2 separate regions of the Homo sapiens genome follow, and region 1 is linked to region 2. The links are contacts of gene promoters, found by promoter capture Hi-C in blood cells and fetal thymus (Javierre and others, 2016). All regions are on one chromosome and are shown on one strand. The core of a region is centred on a gene start or on the middle of the fragment in contact, and the rest is flanking DNA. Distances in the headings are between cores, read along the strand shown. Region 1 overlaps GALNT7-DT (GALNT7 divergent transcript). Region 2 holds the start of SPCS3 (signal peptidase complex subunit 3).

What was found. The method cuts DNA at HindIII sites, captures the fragments that hold promoters and counts their contacts. A CHiCAGO score of 5 or more calls a contact.
Region 1: a contact is called between a fragment that was not itself captured here and the fragment with the promoter of SPCS3 in region 2, in 1 of 17 cell types (activated CD4 T cells). The highest score is 5.6, in activated CD4 T cells.

Annotation. Positions count from the first base shown.
Region 1 is chr4:173,162,308-173,166,545 of GRCh38, forward strand. It overlaps GALNT7-DT (GALNT7 divergent transcript), which reads right to left. Exons shown (of 7, transcript NR_134242.1): 4 at 3,817-3,992; 5 at 2,671-2,825; 6 at 1,986-2,046. Among named protein-coding and RNA genes, the nearest start is that of GALNT7, 4.4 kb to the right of the region's middle. RefSeq lists an enhancer at 3,615-3,694. The HindIII fragment of the contact is 579 bases long and covers 2,443-3,021 here.
Region 2 is chr4:176,317,889-176,322,027 of GRCh38, forward strand. It overlaps SPCS3 (signal peptidase complex subunit 3), which reads left to right and starts at 2,078. Exons shown (of 5, transcript NM_021928.4): 1 at 2,078-2,331. The coding sequence starts at 2,189. It overlaps SPCS3-AS1 (SPCS3 antisense RNA 1), which reads right to left and starts at 2,622. Exons shown (of 4, transcript NR_186171.1): 1 at 2,257-2,622. RefSeq lists an enhancer at 1,889-2,389 and silencers at 2,372-2,491, 2,612-2,681, 2,712-2,791. The HindIII fragment of the contact is 6,231 bases long and covers 1,017-4,139 here.

The DNA of each region.
Region 1 (4,238 bases), core at 1,482-3,981, 3.2 Mb before region 2:
CTCCAGCCTGGCAACAGAGCAAGACTACGTCTAAAAAAAAAAAAGAAAAGAAAAGAAAAGAAAAGAAAAGAAAAGAAACTTGGTCTATATGCTCTGAGGGAGAACTTACAGGGTGCTTTGAGAGCATGAAGGAGGGTCTTCTAACCTAGCAGTGGGATCGGGGACTGAAGACAATTAGAGGTTTCTGAAAGAACTGATGTATAAATTGAAATCTGAAGGATTATCAGGGAGTTCATGGGAGAGGGGTTGGTGTAAGAACCACAGAGTGTTCTAAGCGAGAGAATAACACACACAAGGTCTAGAAGTGAGAGGGAAGTTAGCCTATTTCAGAAATGGAGAGAAAATCAACATGGCTATAGTTTAAGTTGCAAAAGAGGGGATAACTGACCAGCCATGGGGCTGCAGAGGTAAGCAGAGGCAAGCTCACAAAGGCTTTGTAATAAATGGAGGAATTTGGGCTTAAATATAAGAGCAATGGGAAGCTGTTGAAGAGGTTTTAAACAAGAGTGGTAAGAGACAAAATCCGTTTCAATCACCTCTTAAATAAATGGTTAGATCAGAAGAGCACTTCTGAATTATGGGAGTCCAAAAACAGTACCAAATTATGAAGAGGTAGTGTTCTACGATGTGAAATCTGAGGGCTTTTACATAAATATTTTTGCTTTCCAAACACTGTAGGAGACCCTTAACCTCATTAAATGGAAGCCCTTGACAACAGTCCTTTATTCCAGATGAGCACAACTCAGGAATTATCCATCTCAAGCTTATGATAGAAATAGTACCCCATGTCAGAAAAAAAGTACAAAGGCAGGATTTTACCTCATAGTATTCCACATGAAAGCACAAATTAGTCTCAATCACACATCGGCATCATAGGAAAATCTCAGAATTTCAGTATTGGAAAGAATGTTAAAGATCATTTGGTCCAACACCTTCATTTTACAGATGAAGGCAGTATACAGATTATTTCTTATACAAGACTGTGGATTCTGCCTTGGGCTCTCTCTCCCTCAGATCTTTCATGAAGGGGGGAAGTCAGCTTGGCATGTCATGAGTAGCCCTGTGGAGAAGCCCAGGTGACAAGGAACTGAAGCCTCCCACCGCCTGCCAGTGAGGAACTGAGGCCTGCCTGCTGGCCATGTGGGTGAACTTGACAGCAAATTCTCCAGGCCCAGTTGGTTATGATAGTGGTCCCAGCTGATAGTTTGGTAAGAACCTCATGAGAGACCCTGAGCCAGACCACCTTGTTAAGCCACTCTTAGATTCCTGACTTCAGGAACTGTGTGAAGTAAATGTTTGTTGTTTGAAAGTGCTAAACTTTGGAGTCATTTGTTAAGCAGTAAGAGGTAACTAATGAACAGTACACAAAATTAATAAATTCTTAACAAACTTACACTATGCTTCCCTTGATATCTAAATAGTAGTTATTTTCTAAACAATAAAATGTATCTTCCTTTAAAGATACTACCAATTGTGCTCTTCTTCTTTGAAAAGAGGTGATTAAATGGCTTATAGAATAGGTGATAGGATATTTAGTCATTTAGAGGTCACTGACTCTAATTTAACCTGAGTTCTTGGCAACCACACATAGATAATACTGAAATTTGTTTGCAAATAATTCCCTATGGCTACATATTCCCATTTTAATGTAGCTGTTTTTTTTAAATCTCCGTACATACAAAAATATGAACTTAAATTAAAATTACCCTTTCTTCTTAGTTCTAAGCAGCCTTAGTAGGATGCTGAGTAAGGGGGAAACAACAGCCTATCAATTGATGATGATGACCATATGTAAAATAATCACTTTTCTAATTTAATAAAACCTCCAAAGTTTTGTCCTTGGAAGAAAAACCTCCCAGTGAGGAGGAATAGCAATTGAAGTAAACCTGGCCCCTCTTCTAAGTTTTGTCTGCCTTTTATATTTTCAATCCCATTATTCATTCAGCATTCCATCAAGAAATACTCACTGAGCCCTTTCCACATACCAGACACGGATAACAATAACGAACTAGATAGACAAGGCTCCACCTTCATACACATTTTTATCTGGGTATAGGAAAAAGAAATTAAGCAATTACAATATAGTGGTAATCATTAGGGAAGAAAAGTAGAGGGTGCAGTGGAAGTACCTAGCAGGATACCTACCCTAGTACATTGGTGGGAAGAGATATAGGGGTGTGGAGTGGGACATGTGAGAGAGTCTAGAAAAAGCTTTTTTGTAACTGACATCTAAGCGTAATGTTAAGATGTCAGAAGGTATTTCAGGCAAAAAGAACTCCCCGTACAAAGGCCTGAAGGTAAGTGAGTTACATTTAGAAACTTAGAAGTTCAGCTTGGCTGCAGCATAGCATTGGGGTAGTGTAGCCCCAAAATGGATACAATTCCCTCTGCTGGGCTTCCCTGTAACAGAGTTGACATGGTGGAGAAATTAAAAAATAACAAAGCTTTAGGCTCTGACCTCTTGCACATTATGCTGCCTGAAAACATTTATGTTCCAGATGCAGAAGGCTAATCAGTCTGGCAAGAATTCTGAGGTTGGAAAAACCTGCTTTGAATCCCAGCTTGAGACCAGTAATACCCACAACAGGTTGTGTAGAGGTTAGGTGAAATAATAAATGTGAAGCATCTTACACACACTAGGTGCTCAAATAATTCTCTCCCTTCAGTTACCTTGCTTCTGAGCCCCCAGCTGGACTCTGAGCTGAGGACACCATGTCACCATCCACCACACATGACCCCATGACTTGGCAGAGGACGATGCTTTTCTTGGCCATCTCTATGTCCATCTCATTCAGTTCTAGTCTCTACCCTCTTCTTTAGAGGAACTGCAGCATTCATAAAACAAGAATTATAGCCACACGCACCTGAGACTTGTTCCATTACACTAATTGTACTTTATATTTGTATATGTACTTGATCTCAATTATTCCTTTTGAGAACATCATAAGGTTGAGTATTGTAATCACTATTTGGCAGATAAAAGCCCTAGGTTCAGAGAGGTACGTGATTTATCTTGACTGAAGCTTTGAATGTAGCTCCTCATTTTCTAAACGAGTTCTGTCAACCCTACAAAGGCTGCCTCCCAGCAAATACTGCAATGGGCATATGTTTTAAGGTATATTTGCACTTTTTTTAAACTTTTAAGTTCAGGGGTACATGTGCAGGTTTGGTACATAGGTAAACTTGTGTTATGGGGGTTTGTACAGATTATTTCATCACCCAGGTATTAAGCCTAGTACCCACATTAGTTATTTTTCCTGATCCTCTCCCTCCTCCCACCCTCCACCCTCCAATAGGCCCCAGTGTGTGTTGTTCCCCTCTATGTGTCCATGTGTTCTCATCATTTAGCTCCCACTTATAAGTGAGAACATGCAATATTTCGTTTTCTGTTCCTGTGTTAGTTTACTTGCAGTTTCTTTTAAAAGTTATTAAGACTCAGAGAAACATAAACTTTTACAACTATATACCTATTCATCAATATACAACTGTATAACTATATACTCTTTCACACATATTTTAAGTTCTCTGTGTAAAACTAAAGTTGGGGGGTGGTAGTGGTGGCAGGATGTTCTCAGAATACTAGGGCCTTCAAAGGACCATCCTCAATACTTTGATGATAGGTATCACTTTCCATTTGCATACTTGCCCAGCTATGCTCATAACAGTAAAAATAAAGCTTCCTACCTTCTTAAGAATAAAAAACTGTCTCCCCTGTGAAAATAACACAAGTGAAAGACTTAATTATTCAGGTGGACTTCAGCTGCTGATTTCAAATGGAATTATTCTCTTATGATCACAGGATGCCTTGTAAGTTACCTGTTTCAAGCCCAGTCTCTGCCTAGGGAACTGTCTCCTATGAAAAGGAGTCCGGGTGGACCATGGTGGCTCATGCCTGTAATACCAGCATCTTGGGAGGCCAAAAAGGGAGGATCGCTGGAGGCCAGGAGTTTGAGACCAGCCTTGACAACAGGACCAGATAATAGACCCCGTCTCTACAAAAAATAAAAAAAAAATTAGCTGGGCATGATGACTCACACATGTGGTCCTAGCTACTCGGGAGGTTGAGGTGGGAAGATCACTTGAGCCCAGGAGTTCCAGGCTGCAGTGAGCTATGGATGTGCCACTGCACTCCAGCCTGGGTGACAGAGCAAGACCTCAACTCAAAAAAAAAATAAATAAAAAAGAAAAGGAGTCCACCTCACTTCTGAACAGTTCAAGTTGAGTCCATAAATGAGCCT
Region 2 (4,139 bases), core at 828-3,327:
AACACTTGGAAAAATAAAACAGAATAAGAAAATTCCCTATCCCATCCCTCTCCTGCTCTTTTTGTGGACTTTTATGTGTTTTTAGCACTACCAGTAAGTCAAGTTAAAAACTGTGGTGTCATAATAATAATACTAGTTTCATTTGAGTGTTCACAATCTGCATTCACTCTATGCTTTGCAGACCCCCACTCTTATTTAGGCAGTTGCTAAGTAACATAGAGTTTGTTTCCGAAATGCCCCTCCTATCAGTCTTCCTTTTGGGTCCATCACTCACTCTCCACATATAACTGGTAAATGGTTGCCTGTGTAGCGATGCTTGTTTTACATGTAATTTCCCTGATATAAAGTCAACTTCTTGACCTGGTTTTCTACCATAACTTACCTTTCCAGGCTTATTTCTGCTTACTCTTTTATACATGCATTGTTTATCAGGACCAGCCTTCTGAGTATCTCTTAGATATACCTGTACTTGCAGTTCAACAACAAGAATTATTTCCCTAAAACATGCTATAATAATAATGTGTCTTGTTTAGGCTTTGTGTTAAATAATTTGCACACTGTGTTGTCCCACATTACCAGGGCTGTAATTCCTTCCTCCTTTGCTATGTAACTTCCCAGGGTATTTTTTTGTTTTACATTTCAGATTTGTTTTTATTTTATTAACTCTACCTGATTATATACTTTTGAGTGTAGAAAGTGATCAGTACAATCTCTGTATCACTTGCAGTATAGATGGCATTCAATAAAAATCCTTTTTTTTCTTTTTTTGTTAACAAACTGTGCCAGCCTGGAAGTTAAAAACTAAGATTTTAAACGCAACTAAGGATCTCTCTTTAGTCTCTATTTTATCGATTTTTCATTAGTTGGCTCTATTTGAGCAGGGAGTCTGCCTTATTAGTGCTGTATTCTCAAGGCTTAGAACTATTCCTGGTACACGGTAGGCACTTGGTAATAATCCTACCTGTATGGCTATACAAAAATTAATTGAATGGTCATGAATAATGCAAAGAAGCAAAAGCTTAACAAGAGACAACATAAGCCAGTATCAAGATCAGATGTTCACAGTTTTCTGGTTTGTTCCTGATCACATTCCAGGACAGATATTTTTGTTTGGTTTATGGACTGAAATTTTTAAAAAAAATTTATTTCAGCAGACCCTGAATCCATTTTTATAAAAACCCTTAGCTGTGAAAGGAACAAAGGTTTTGGCAGATAGTATAATCAGAGTCAGGATTGGCTCGGTTTGAACCCTAATGCCCTTCAGGATATTGAAAATGTGATAAAATAATTGCATTATTTATTAATGACCCAACGAAATTCTTATACATTATGCTGTAGAGCAATTCCGCAGCCATTATCTTCTTTGCTCCTAAGAACCCAGAAAGGTTATCCTTTTATTTATCAGAAATCACCATGTTAAAATGCAAATACTTAGGATCGGTAGCCTCAACCCTTATCTTCTAAAACATCTTTAGCTATCCATACAAAGCAAAGCATTAATAGGAATTGGACTGACGTTGGAGGTGGAAATACTGATGCACGTGACAGCTTTAAGGACTTGGGCGGCTAATTCCCCACTCCCCACTGCTCCTCAGATCCTCCAAAAAAAGCTCAAGTCCTAACTTTGACCAGGTTTGACAAAGAAGGGAGAGGACCAGGCGTTTTGTAAAGTGCTGCTTCCAAACGCCACCCGTCAGGACAGATTCTAAACCACCTTAACTTGCTGCCGGTTTCAAGTGAAAATAAATGGTACATAAGTAATCAAGAAGTCGCAGTCCCAGACCTCTGACCAAAGAACCGAAAAAGGACAGCGAACGACCGGTTCCCAATTCTCTGAACCCAAAGGTCGGAGAAGCAATTTAGAAGAGGAGGGGGTGGGTCTTCCACAACAAACCCCGCCCCTCCCTCACTCGTCGCTGATTGGTGGCGGCGTTAGGCCGCGACGGAGGGGCGGGCCCGCGGCTGAGTCTCTCCCTTTCCGCGCCGCCCCGTGCGCGCTGTGGGTGTGTTTCGGGAAGCGGGCGCGCGCGCGCTCGCGTCGGAGGACCGGAAAGGAGGCGGGGCTGCGGCGGCGCGCGCTCCCGGAACGCGCGCACCGCAGACGGCGCGGATCGCAGGGAGCCGGTCCGCCGCCGGAACGGGAGCCTGGGTGTGCGTGTGGAGTCCGGACTCGTGGGAGACGATCGCGATGAACACGGTGCTGTCGCGGGCGAACTCACTGTTCGCCTTCTCGCTGAGCGTGATGGCGGCGCTCACCTTCGGCTGCTTCATCACCACCGCCTTCAAAGACAGGAGCGTCCCGGTGCGGCTGCACGTCTCGCGGATCATGCTGTGAGTGAGGCCGGGCCGGCGGTGCAGGACGCCGGGACCGGGCTGGGGCGGAAGCCGAAGCCGGGCCGCCGCGCCGGGGCTGCCGTGCCGGGGCCGCGGGCAGGGCGTCCGGATCGCCCTCCTGAGCGGCAGTTCGCCCCCGAGGGCGGTCGTCAGGGGTGGACGTCGCAGGCTTTTCCGGCGTCCCCTCGGAACTTGCACCCCTCCACCGTAAATTCCCGGGCTTGCTCTTAAATTTTAATTTTGAGCGTTCCTCAGGTCGGTGCCTCCGCTTGCTTCCTGTTCCTCACTTCCCTCCACCCACGCCTGGCCAATGAGGGAGCAACACAACAGCAGAGCCGGCGCCGCCGCCCGCCTGGGCTGGCGCCTCCCGCGCGTCCGGTGCCGCTCGTGGTCCGCATGCGAGGCCCTCCAGGCGCTGCCGCCGCGCTCTGGGTCGGGCTTCCGTGGGGTTTCCTGGCGGCTCTGGAGGCCACAGGACGGGGTTGTCTTTGTGTCATTCATCACCCGAGTTTGCCCTGTTTGACATTCCCTTTACAGTTGTTGCCTTTGCACCTTCAGAAGGCAGTAAACAGTTGGAGCTGCTTTGAAGTTGGCCAGAGATGTTGGGCACTGAGAGAATTAAGCATCTTAGCCTTCTGATACAGCGAGATTTTTGTTTTGTTGGGTTTCTTTATTTCTTTTTCTTTTGCCAACCACTTGAAGAAGTCTGCGAAAACGCCAAAAAATGCAGTTCGAAATGACAGTGCCATTTCGCTATTGCCTATTTTGTCCTTGATTTTATTCTCTGGCACTTTTGTCTTTAATCGTCGTATTTTTCCATCTCTTGTTCTCATACCCTTCTACTCTATTTCCGTCTTACACAAGTTCTTTAACCTTAGTTTATTTCTTTGTCAGAATCGCCAAGAAGCCAGTTATCAAATAGCGAGCCTTCTCCCCCCACCTTTTTTTTTTTTTTTTAAATTACTGTACTGATGTTTGTTAGATATTGTTCGAATAGACCTGGGGTGGACATCAGCACTGCCATTGTCAGCCCTGTGAGGGTTAGAAGAGCTTGGTGCATATTAAACACTGAACAGATGTTAGCTGTTGTTGTCTTGAGCAAGTTTTCTTACCATTCTGGGCCTTAATTTCTTTTTGTTTAAGATGGAAGTAATACCTAATTTTTAGGTTGTGAGAATTATTTGAAATGTGAAAAATATTGTCAGTGGGTCTGAGCCGTAGTAAACAGTAAATAGCAGCTGGTTACAGTAGTATCCCCTTAATGGGGTAGGTATACGTTCCAAGACCCCCAGTGGATGGCTGAAACCACGGATAGCACCAAACCCTATATATACTTGGTTTTTTCCTATACCGTACATACATACCTACCTATGATAAAACTTACAAGTTAAGCACAATAAGAGATTAACAATAACATAATAGAACTGTAACAATATACTATAATAAAAGTTATGTGAATATGATCTCTTTCCCCTTCTCTCAAAATAACTTATTTTACTGGACTCACCTATTTTCACACCAGATTGACCGCGGATAATTGAAACCGGAAAGTGAAACCTCGGATAAGGGGGTGATTACTGTATCACCCTTTAATATGCCATCTGTTAGTATTCGTATCACCTTGTAGTCATGTGTAGCTTTCTTCTACCCATTCTGCAAAATTGCTTTACATCAAGTATTTACTATTCTTTTTAGCAGTTTTTATCCCCTTCTGAGTTTTGTTAGGGATTCTCTTGAGGTATATGCAATTAGCTGAAGACCTACTTTAATATTGGATTAGAATGTTTCTCCTGTTTTCACACTTA